Regions from separate parts of the Homo sapiens genome. Here all the other regions are linked to region 3. The links are contacts of gene promoters, found by promoter capture Hi-C in blood cells and fetal thymus (Javierre and others, 2016). All regions are on one chromosome and are shown on one strand. Each heading gives the region's core, a stretch centred on a gene start or on the middle of the fragment in contact. The rest is flanking DNA. Distances are from core to core; before and after follow the strand shown. Region 1 overlaps FAM219A (family with sequence similarity 219 member A). Region 2 overlaps FAM219A (family with sequence similarity 219 member A). Region 3 holds the start of CNTFR (ciliary neurotrophic factor receptor).

What was found. The method cuts DNA at HindIII sites, captures the fragments that hold promoters and counts their contacts. A CHiCAGO score of 5 or more calls a contact.
Region 1: a contact is called between a fragment that was not itself captured here and the fragment with the promoter of CNTFR in region 3, in 3 of 17 cell types (erythroblasts, M2 macrophages and total CD8 T cells). The highest score is 5.8, in erythroblasts.
Region 2: a contact is called between a fragment that was not itself captured here and the fragment with the promoter of CNTFR in region 3, in 4 of 17 cell types (erythroblasts, endothelial precursors, M1 macrophages and 1 more). The highest score is 6.5, in erythroblasts.

The regions. Positions count from the first base shown.
Region 1 is chr9:34,443,273-34,447,027 of GRCh38, forward strand. The region is part of intron 1 of FAM219A (family with sequence similarity 219 member A); the gene reads right to left. Among named protein-coding and RNA genes, the nearest start is that of FAM219A, 13 kb to the right of the region's middle. The HindIII fragment of the contact is 2,504 bases long and covers 1,208-3,711 here.
Region 2 is chr9:34,419,488-34,423,482 of GRCh38, forward strand. All of the region lies in intron 1 of FAM219A (family with sequence similarity 219 member A), which reads right to left. LOC124902145 (a long non-coding RNA gene) reads left to right here. Exons shown (of 3, transcript XR_007061465.1): 2 at 3,151-3,250. Among named protein-coding and RNA genes, the nearest start is that of SPMIP6, 24 kb to the left of the region's middle. The HindIII fragment of the contact is 2,893 bases long and covers 229-3,121 here.
Region 3 is chr9:34,587,207-34,591,267 of GRCh38, forward strand. It overlaps CNTFR (ciliary neurotrophic factor receptor), which reads right to left and starts at 2,518. Exons shown (of 10, transcript NM_147164.3): 1 at 2,349-2,518. The HindIII fragment of the contact is 17,004 bases long and covers 1-4,061 here.

The DNA.
Region 1 (3,755 bases), core at 1,210-3,709, 140 kb before region 3:
CCAATGGTGGGGATCTCCAGGAAGGCCCACTCTGCTAACAGACTCAGCCGCCCTCTACACGTCCCCCAGCCCAGCCCCACTCAATGGGAATCTCTTCCAGAGATCAGTGAAAGCACAGAGCAGGTCCTTCTCCAGCCTGGCCTCACCACAGCCCTGTCAAGGAGGCCAAAGACTCTTCTCATTTGGTGATGAGAAGAATAACCCATCTCCTCACTCTCTCCCACAAAAGTTCCCTTGGGAATTACAGACAGAAAAAGAAAATCAGCAACCCTTTCATTATCATCAACCCTTAGACCAGAAATAATATAGTAATTTGCAGCTCATTTTCACATACATGATCTTATTTATTTTACAAATGCCTGAAAGCGGTTAGGAGGCTGGCCAAAGGTCATAACAAAAGTGATAGTAGCTAGGATATACCCAGCCTACTTACCACTGCTGTGCACAGCTCCTGCCCTCAGGCCCGTGCCCCCCACTGGCTTATCCTAATTTCCCCACCCCCTCAAGCATACTCAAACCAATTCCTCCTGTGGGAGCTTCCTGTGACTGTCTCTCTGCTGTATCAGAGCCCATGGCAAATGAAGGATGTGAAATATGAGATTCCATCAGGAAGTTGATAGGGAGGCTAACAGATGGTCAAATCTTGGTTCTGACTGGTTCCCTTTGGTACCAATGTCTGCTACATTAAATACCAACCCTCAACTTGGTCTCCCTCCCTGACTCCACATAATTCTCCCTCCCCTTCCCTAAACCACTAGCTACTACCACTTCCCCATATCATTATCCCCACTTGGCCTTTCACTGAGTCCTCTAGGCCAGAGCTGGATGCAGCATGTCAGCTGAGAGCAGAGAGGACTTTCTGGAAGCTAAAATCCTCAGGGAACAGCTTTGGCATTCATAGGAGAACCAGTGGAGGCCCCTTTCACCAGCTGCTGCAATTTGCCTGCCAATGTGGCTACTGGCTTTCCCACCAGAGGCAAGTCTGTCCCCAGAGAGAATGACCTATACATTTGGGTTTTGTGGTAAGGAGAAACCTATGCCTGATACACCAAGAACAGGACATCCAGGCTGGCACTCTTCCTTTCCTCCAAGATCCCCAGAGACTTTCTCCATTTCCAGGAGGATGTGTACAGGTCATATAATGTTGGAAGACTCAGGTAGGAGCTCTTCATCAGCAAAACTAAGTTTTTTCCTCATTAAATATTAAAGCTTACAACTCCATTAATAGCTTCTCCAGCCCCCACAACAAAGCTGACGGCACAGTTATCAGCTCTGCTACCAATGGGAGAGGGGCTGGATTGGCCTTCTTACATTATTCTACGTCCCTTACTTCTGAAAATGTACCTAATGCTGCAAAGGGAGAAGATGGGAAAAGGCCAATTTGTAAGGAACTCAGATTGCTAACTCAGCTAGGGACCCCTGCCCACTGGGGAGCCAGGAGCACGTCACTCCTTGTAAGAACAAAATCCTTCTCATCCTGTGGTCTGAGTTCAAACATCACTTTCTCATAGCAGCCTTACCTGACATCCACAAGAGAATAATTTATTATTCTCTCTTTTCCTACTGCATTTCTTGCCTTTTCTATCACTTGTCATAGTTGGTAATTGTGTTTGTGCACTTTGTTTAGTATCTGTCTCTCCTACTGGATTGCCAGCTTATGAAGGTAGGTACCATGTTTGCTTTATTCATCATTTTACTTCCTATGTTTGGCTCAGTGTCTTGCATATAGCAGATGCTCAAAAGATGTTATTTGAATAATGAATGAATGTCCCATCCCTGTATTCCCCTGAATCTCCCTTAATTCCCCAACATGTGGCTTCCACTCTACTAATTCTCACCTACTCATCCCCCTCTAGGTCTTTGCTGTTCCCCTCCTTAGAATAACCTCCCAACCTCCTCTCCTTTCCACTCTTACTCATCTTTAAAGGAGCCAGCTGTATTCTTCTGTAGTTCTGTTTCATAAGAGCAAGTATCTTCTTCACCAGTCTGTAAGTTCTAGAGGTAGAAGCTATCTTGTCAAGGAGATCAAAGGGGAGTTGGGGTGACAAGACTCACAGCACATTAAAGTGGACACCCTAAACCAGAATATCATTTGTATAAAATTATGTGCTAGAGGTTATAGAGGCTTAGGGATTGGTTAAGAGCTCACTAGAATATTCAGGGAAAGCTCTCTGAAGAATGGGAGTTTATATTGATCTCTGAAGAATGTGTATGAGTGAAATGGGCAGAAGAGAATTGTTAAGAGGAGAGGAGGCCTCAAGGTGCCAATAGGTGAAAGAAGGTGAAGGACATGGCTGGACTTACTAGAAAGAAAGTTGGCTTGAATGGTAGCAAGTATGGCCAGCTTTGAGGGGTAAAAGCCTAGTGTAGATGCCTCAAAAGCCAGTGGAGAAGTTCAAGCCTGATGTAGAAGAACTTAATTGGGTTCCAAGTTGCGAAGGAGGGTCTAATCTAGGCCACGCCAACCTCCAGCTGGGTAGTGGCTAAGCCTGTTTACCTTTCTGGGAGTCTGCTTGCAGATCTATAAAGTGGGCAAAATGATTTTCCTAATCTGCTTAATGAGATGGTTCAGGTGCTTTGGAAACATCTTTTCACCTACCTTAAAAAGGAATTAAAGATAGGCTGGGTGCAGTGGCTCATGCCTGTAATCCCAGCACTTTGGGAGTCCGAGGCAAGAAGATCACTTGAAGTCAGGAGTTTAAGACCAGCCTAGCCAACATGGTGAAACCATCTCTACTAAAAATACAAAAATTAGCTGGGTGTGGTGGTGTGCACCTGTACTCTCAGCTACTCGGAAGGCTGAGGCAGAAGAATTGCTTGAACCTGGGAGGCAGAGGCTGCAGTGAGCCAAGATTGTGCCACTGCACTCCAGCCTGGGCAACAGAGCGAGACTCTGTCTCAAAAAAAAAAAAAAAATGCGGGGCGGGGGGAATTAAAGATAGGGATAAGACACTGTACCCATAAACTTTACACAATGACAAGGTATTAGGGCCACAGGACAGGTAAATGGAGAGCTCACATCTCACTGAAGGATAGAAAGGGATGCATGAAGAAGATGGTGCTTTTGTGACAGGCCTTGATATATACAAAACATTAGCAAACACCTATTCTCAGAAAACTAGAAAAGTGCTGCTTGTGCTAAGTTCCACAGTGGATTCTTGGACACGTTTATAGTACACACACATAACAGAGCCATGTTTACTGCTAGAATATTATTCCTAGCACCTACTTTGGAAGGACTAGGACATTTGCACAGAGCAGTGTGTCTTCCTGGTGCCCTGGCCTCTGGCCCAGTTTAAGAACTGATACCATAGAGAATGTGAGGTAAGAACACATTCACATTCCCACCATGGCTCTGGTTCTCCCTGTGAAGCTACAGATAACATGAAGACTATCCTCCTTTTCTTTCCTAATCCCAGTCCTTTAGGTATTTGAAAACCTCAAAATGCTTTCTCTGAGACTGCTTATTCATAGGCCAAACAGCTCAGTTCTTCTAACTATTCTCACATGACATGCTTTTGACTCCTTTCATTATTCTAGTCACCCAATCTCTTGAATGATGATATCAGTACAGAATGGAGGACTTCAGATGGTGATGACCACTACAGAATAGGGCAGAGTAGGATGATTACCTCCTAGGAACTGAATTCCATGCTTCTATTAATGTAGTCCAACAGCACATTAGCTTTGTTATATAGTGGACTTATATTAAGCTTTCTGTCCACTCAAGCACTAGCTCGCTTTAAAGGTCCCTA
Region 2 (3,995 bases), core at 425-2,924, 170 kb before region 3:
ATGTGGATTCCAGTTCTTCAAGATAAGGGAGGAGGCATAGACACTGAGGAGAATACTGCCCAGGAATCAGTACAAGACATGTGGTTGGAGACTCCTTGAGAGCCCCACACCTGGTAGGAAGCAGAAGCAGGAGAAATGCCAGCAGACACTGACATTTGTCTGGGCCAGATTGACGTGTGGATTCTTGTCTGAATCTTGGCCCCAAATCTCACTTAAGGCTTTTTAGTAAGCTTCAATTACTCAAGGAACTGAGCCTGGCCTGCACTGGTTCATAAATCTTTGGGGCTCCTTGATTTGCAGGAAAGCAAAGTAATTGGCAGAGTCTATGGGATTTCTTCCCTCTGGCCTTGGAAGAATAAGGACCAACTTGTCTGCAATGGACAATGGACTTGGAGGGCTAGTATCAAATAGCTTTTCCTCTCTGTGGCATTTCCTGTCGCTGCCCTTCCTCTCCTTTTTAGCTTGTTCTAAGTCTCTAACCCCCATTATGCCTGGCAGGCACTACTCTTTGCCCACAAAGATAATTTGCAGCTCTAAAGCTCAGCTCTCTAGCCAGAGCAGTCTCCTAGTCTTTCCTTTTTGTCATCCCAATAATTAAACATTGGTGAACTTGCCACTTGTTCAGAACTTTGATAATCACTGAACCCCAACAAGGGGGAGGGCACAATGTACACTGGGGAGGGAAAAACACCAAGCCCTGGTTCTTGCCAAGAAGAATTTAAAAGTGCAGAGATGACAGGCACACAGATCAGCCTATTTAAGGAAGAGAGAGGAACAGCAGAGGCAGGAATGCATGGAGGGTGGTAGGAGCACAGAGGAGAGCGATAATGGTAGCGATATTATCTTCTCTGACATACAAGATTGGGCCTGGGCAGGAGCCAGGTTAAAGTGGAGACCTGGCTATTGGTCACTGGGTACTTTGGCAGAGGGTTTAAAGCAACTACTGGTGAAGCTCTGCCCTGGGGGCTAGGACTCTACTTTTCGTTGCTGCTGATGTAGTTCCTACCCTGCCACAGGGCACTCACTTACTCCCCACCTCATTTTGGGGGGTCATTTGCAGCAGGACCTTTTCCTTTACCATTGAGATAAACAGATAACCCAAAGGAAGGGTCAAGAGGCTCTAGGTGGGTGGCTGGAAAGGGTTTTTATTAAGAAGGCAATCAGGGACTGAGAGTCCTGTCCTAAGAGTGCTTAAGAAAGAGAAAGACCAGGCGTGGTGGCTCATGAGCCTGTAATCTCAGCACTTCAGGAGGCTGAGGTGGGAGGATTGCTTGAGCCCAGGAGTTCAAGACGAGTCTGGGCAACAAAGTGAGACCCCATCTCTACAAAAAAGAAAAAAAAACTTAGCCGGGTGTGGTAGCATGTGCTTGTGGACCCAGCTACTTGGGAACCTGAGGCAGGAGGATCACTTGAGCCTGAGAAGTTGAGGCTGCAGTGAGCTGTGATCACACCACTGCACTCCAGCCTGGGTGACAGAGTGAAACTCGTGTGTGTGTGTGTGTGTATGTGTGTGTGTGTGTGTGAGAGAGAGAGAGAGAGAGAGAGAGAGAGAGAGAGAATGGCTCTGCTGAAACAAATTTTGCTGCATCCAGCCAAGCCTAGGGCCTGCAGTCACTCTCACAAGGCCTGTTCCGTGCAGCAGGGAGGTCAGGGCTGAGGGGCCCATAGAGGCCTGGGGGCCAGCCTGGGGTCAAGCAGGTCAGAGAGGGGAAGGGGAGGGTTAACCCTACTTATGAACTCCCATCTGAGTCTCCCAAGAGAAGAAAGTTCATGTGTGTGTGTTATAGGGGTGTGTGTGTGCCAGCTGGGGGTACAGAGGTAAGGAGGGGAGATTGTAGAGTAACACCAACTCAGGGTGTGTTTTTAGGGGTGAGGCTAGCCAGTTGCTGGTTATGCATCTCCATGGAAAACAATACTCAACTGCTAAGCTAGATGGTCCTAGGATACTTGCAGGAACGTCTCTGCAGGCTCAGGGCAGTAGAGAGCCTTTGCCTGCCCACCTGTCACTCCCTGGCTGGTGCAGTGACACTTACCGGCTAACTCATACTCAAGGCATCAATAGGAAGGGGTACCACCTCGTACTCCAGGCATCAATAGGAAAGGCCGCTGAAACAGCAAATGACCAACATTTCCCAAAGAGCCCCCTACAGCTCTACAACCCACATCTCTGAGGACACTTCCTCTTCTCTGAGTACACCCCCCTGCCACAGCCTCCCCCACCCCCATACAACCTCTACCTCTTCTAGACAGCTGACACACCTGCACTGTCTCAACCCTCCACCCCTGCTGAACCCATCTGTGCCCCTAGGACAGTGTTTCTTCATATATTAATGTGCATAGAAATCATCTGGGCATATTATTTAAATGCAGATTCTGATTCAGTAGGTCTGGAACCTGAATTGTCAGCATTTCATATTAGCTCCCAGGTGGTACCAATGCTGTTAATACAGCGACCACACTTGGAATAGTGTGGCTCTAGGCCAGCCTCTCTACGCCCACACCATCCCCAGACAGCCTCTCAAAGAGCCCTCCACCCTGACCTTAACCTGGTTACATTCCTAGTGGCAAGAGGGAACAATAGTCTGGGAAGAGAGGAGAGAAGAGGAGGGACTTCTCAAAGCTCACGTTGGGGAGGCAGCTCTACTAAGAACTCTGGCTGGATCCAGGCAGGGAGTTGTTCGGAACAATTTAGCCCAGGTGTAGTTCTTCCAAAACTCATCCAGTCATTTAGTTAATGTTGCTTAAATACCTGCCAGAGGTACGGCCATGGTGCTAAGTGCTTTATCTATATTATTTCATTGAATCCTCCCCAAAACCAAGTAAGGCAAATATCATTTTCATTTTAAAATTGAAGAACTAGGTTGCATAAAGTAATATGTCCAAAGTCACACCTGGTAGGCAATTTGAATCTAATTTCCTCATCTCTCTTACCCCAGCCCCTTCTCAGAGACTTAGATAAAGTCATGAGATTAACAACGTACCAGAACTTACACCTCTGTGGGACTGTTGTCTTGCAAAGCAGTCACTTGGAAGGCTGGTACCTAGTTCAATCATGTCTCTGGAGCTCAACACAAACTTGTAGCCCCTCTTTAGAAAATAGCATGGATGCTTTCTGATCACAAGCTTCCTGCTCAATTGAGTTCTCCACAGGAAGGAAATATTGGAGCCACTGAAGCAGTCGATAGCTCAAGATGGAGAGAGAGACTGGCAGGAAGCAACAAGAAAGAAAATGCGTTGGAAACTGAGAATGGTGAGCCCAGGAGACAAAAGAAGAGGGCAGTGCAAGAAAAGGAGATGAAAGGGGCCTTAGCCACCAAATTCAGTTCTGGTCCTACATTTTAAGGGCATCTATATTCTAGGCACTGTGCTGGGTTCTGGACATATAAAAATAATATGGGCTGGGCGCGGTGGCTCACACCTGTAATCCCAGCACTTTGGAAGGCCGAAGTGGAAGGATTGCTTGAGCCCAGGAGTTTGAGACCAGCCTGGGCAACATAGTAGGACTCCATTTCTACAGAAAAATTAAAGAAAATTAGCCCGGCATGGTGGCACGTGTCTGTAGTCCTAGCTACTCAGAAGGCTGAGGTGGGAGGATCACTTGAGCCTGGGAGGTTGAGGCTGTAGTGAGCCATGATTGCACAGAGCGACAGAGTGAGACCCCTTCTTCTAAATAATAATAACAATAATAAGGCCCCTGCCCATGAAGAGCTCATAAGCCAGTGAGTGAAGCAAGTGAATAAGCAGATAATTTTAATCATATGCTGAGTGCTATGACAGAGGTTTGTATGTGTACAGGACAGAGGCAACTATCCCACTCTGGGGAATTAGGGAGGACTTCTCCAAAGAAAACTGATGGAGGAAGCAAGAATAGGAAGTATTAGTGAACCAGATGAGGAAAGGAGTGGCAAACAAAAAGAAAAAAGAAGAGAAAGGACTGGTGGGAAAGATGCACATGACTATAGAGCAGGCAAAAAGAACAGGTCAATTTTACTAGA
Region 3 (4,061 bases), core at 1,268-3,767:
AAGCATTAGAGTTCTAGTGTAAGTCTGAGTGTGAGACCCTGGTCATAAGGGCTTCTGAGTATGAGCTAAGGTGGCTTATATGGAGTCCTAGTGTGAGCACTGGTATCCCTTTTTAAGTCTGAGTGTGAGTCCCAAAGTACCCTTGTAAGTCTAAGTGTGAACATCAGAATCCTACTGTGAGTCTGAGTGTGAGCTCTGAGATCCCAATATGAATCTGAGTGAGTCACAGGACTTCAAGTGAGTCCTACCAAGATCCTGGTATGAGTCTATGTGTGAGCTCCAGGTTACCCATGGAGGTCTAACCCCCAAAGTTCCCATATGAATCTAAGTGTGAACCCAAAGGTCCTAGTGTGAATCTGAGTGAGCTCCAGGGTCCCCGTGTGAGTCAATGTGATCCCCAGCTTGGAAATGTGAATCTGACTATGAACCCCAGTGTCCTCAGCGAGTCCTTGAGTTCAAATGTGAGCCCCATGTTCCCCATGCGAGTCTGACTAACTCGGAGTCCCAGAATATAAGTGTGAATCGGAGTGAGCATGAGGGTCTTTGTGTGAGCCCCAGTGTGAGCCCTAGGACCCCAGTGAGATTCTGGGTGTGAGCTCTAGGTCTCAATGTAGATCTAAGCTAAAGGGTAAGACCGTGAATCTAAGCATGAGCCTACAGTCCCAGTGTGGGTCCCAGTGTGAGCAGAGTTCCAATGTGAGTCTATGTGGAAACTCCAGGACTGAAGTGTATCCCTGGATATGAGCCCCACAACGTAAGTGTCAGTCCATATGAATGTAAGCCCCTAGACCCTAGAAGGAGCTGAAGTGTCCCAGTGTGCATCTGAGTATGGATTCCAGAGCCCCCAGAAGTCCTGTGCATGAACTTTAAACTCCTAGTCTTTGTGTAGGCTCAGGGTCTCAGTTGGAGTATCAGCCCTGACAGTGTGAACCTTAGCTCTATCTCACCAATGCTGACCAGGAGCCCCTGGCACCAGCTGAGAGGATTTGTGTGGGTTGTGACAGTGGAGACAGAGAGGCATAGTTTGAGACACCTAGGCCCTTCTAGCCCCCAAGTCATTGCTAGCCCTACATCCCTGGGAATCTGCAATGGTTCAAGCCCCATTCCCACACGTGTAATGACACACCATCACACCCAGAGTTAGATACACAAAAATACACCTGGTGTTTCAGGCCCCTCGGACACACAGCAATTACAGATGCACAGACACACCCAGCATTTCACACTCGCACCACCTCAGTGACCACAGCCACACAAACACTCCCAGTGACACAGACACAAATTCACCAAGTATTACAGGCAGAACAACTAGTGTTAGAGACACACTCCTACAGCGGCATGCAGACACACACCCAATGTTGCAGACAAGCTGCCAGGCACACAGACACACACAGACGCTTCTCAAAAAGAGAGACTAGACGGAAAGAAAGAAAATCCTGAATTTTCAACAAGGCGTGAAATAGTCCTGCCCGCCTGAAGCTACTGGAGGGGGGAGGGGGACAAGGGAGCGAGCAAGCGAGCGAGCTAACGCTGGAGGAGAGGCTCGGGAGAGGAGAGGAGCCGAGAGGGAGAGCTGTCCGTCTGGTGACCTCCCCACGGCCCAGCCCCCACGCACGCGGAGATACACTACTCGGAGCAACACAGGGACACCCAGACTGGCTCACACTGAGCCGCACTGGAGGAGACACACACGAGCAGACTCACAAAGAGACACTTGGGGATACACCATAGGCAGACTCGCACAAGCCAGGAAGACTTACAAAGAGACACACTGGAGGAGACCCACTACATGGAGATACATCCAGGCGGACTGAAGAGAAAACCATGGGGACGCCGACCGACACACACATGCACACACACACGCGCGCGCGGGCGCGCGGATTCACACGGACACACATGCACTGGCAGACGCGCAACCGTCGGTTCGCATCCCCGGGCGCTTTGAAGTCCAGATTTCTGCCCGAGAAAGAAGCCACCTTTGGGCGCGCAAAGGCCACTACGAACCTCCCCAAACCCAGGAATTTTTCCAGACCCCGCGCGTGCAGCTGAGGGGTGGGGAGAACAGGGACACTAGGACAAACCGCCGGAGCCACCTCCCTCTAGTCCACAGTCGGCCCCACCACCACCACCACGCCCAACCCCCGGAGCGCCCGGACGTGGGGGGCCGCTCCTCCAGCGCCCCCGCCCCCGAGTTTGCAGGCAAAGTTTCTCGTGAACTTTCCTGTCGCCCCCGTCCGTGGGCCCACGGGTGTCCCCTCACTCTTCCCGCACGCATGAGGGCCGCCGGTCTGCTGGTCAGCCCGGGCTCTGAGGGTCCGGCCGCGCGCACTCCGCCGCAGGGTACTCACCGCGCCCTCGGGCCACCCGGGCTTCGCGCCGCGCCTTCCGACCGCCCCCGGCAGCGAGCGAGGCAGGGAGCGCGGAGCTAGCACCGCCCGCCGGATCCCACCGCCGAGCCTCGCGCCGCGCCGGCTGGAGCCGCCGCCTCCGCTGCCGCCGCCGCCGCCGCCCGCTCTGCACCGGCTCTTCAGCGCTCGGCGGCTTTAACCCCCCCATCCTCCTCCCTCCCTCGCGCGCTCCCTCCCTCCTTCTCTCGCCCATGTGACCGCGGGCGCCCGCTCGGCCGCGCGCGCCCTCGCTCCCCTCCCCCTCTTGCCTTGTCTCCCCGCGCCTCCGCGGCCGCGCGCCACGACCCCTCCCCGCCACGGGCCCCGCGCGCCCCCGCCTTGGCACGCTCTCGCTCCTGGCACACGCGGTCCGCTCGCCCTGCGCGGGCCTGTGAGCCCCCACTCCCACTCGCCCAGCACTGGCACGCGCTCTGCCCCCCCGCTGGCACACTCGTCCGCACTGGCACGCGTGGCCCCCTCGCGTTCACCCTTTCTCGGGCGCGCCCTCAAGACGGCTGTGGTCCCCGTGCTTCACGCGCAGCCCCGGCCGCGGGTCTCGCAAACGCGCGCGCGCACACACACACACACACACACCCACTCGGCCCGCTCCCCTAGGGCGGCTGGGCGCGCACTCACCCCCGGGATCGCTCCTTCACACTCACTCTCCCTCTCGGCCTTAGCCAGGTCTCTCCTGCGCACACTCCCGCACGTTCAGGCCCTGACGGCCTCGCACCGACTCCCTGGCACACCCCGGGCCAACTCTCGGGGTCCTCCCTCCGGCGTCGCCGTGAGAGGAACGCGAGCCAGAACCCCCAACCCCCACTTTGGGCAGAAGAAGCCAGCCGGCTCCGCCTCTCCCCTATTGCTACTGCCCCCCGCAACGACTCCCCTCCCGGTCACCCCCTCGCGCGGGGGAAAGGGGCTTCCTTGACCGGGGATGGACCCTGCCGGGAGCCCAGGCCCATGCCTCCAGTGTCTCCGATGACACCAACACCACTACTCGCATGTTCCTCGCGCCCCGAGGACACACAGCCGGGGGAGAAGCCTCCACTGGAATGAAGGGGTAGGGAGGGTGCACTCTCAATGCCGGGCACAGGCGCACCCCTCGATAGGAGGCTCACTCCCTTCGCAGCCTGGGCCTCTGAGGGGCCGGGGTGTTCACTGCACTCGTCCCTGGGCCTCCGGTCTGGCTGCAACATAGGAGAGTAAGGTTGGACAACCTGACCAACTTCTGAGGCCACGTGAAAGCGCAATGGAGTGGCAATGGCAGAGGCAGAGACCGAGAAAGCCACCCCCGTCTCCACCCCTTGGATTTGTCACCTGACCCTTGACCCATAATCCTGGGCCCTGCCCCTCCGGGGAGCTGCTCTAGGGCTGAGGGCGAGGAGAAGGGAGGGAAATGTCTCCATGTTTCCTCACATCCTTCCCCAGTAGGCTGCCTAGAGCGCCCGGGCCCTTTCCCAACAAATGCCTCAGGGACTCCCACTGCAGAGGAAAATCCTTCTTCCCGCCACGGCCTGGGCTTTTCACTTTCACTTCCGTGGCCACAGAATCCCCTTCCTACAACTGGCAGGGGTCGGCATGGGCTGGAGCTCAGAGACGGCCAGCTAGGACTTCAGGACACACAGCAAACTAGCTGCGCCCCGCTGAGGGTCAGCGCACAGCCGCCCACAC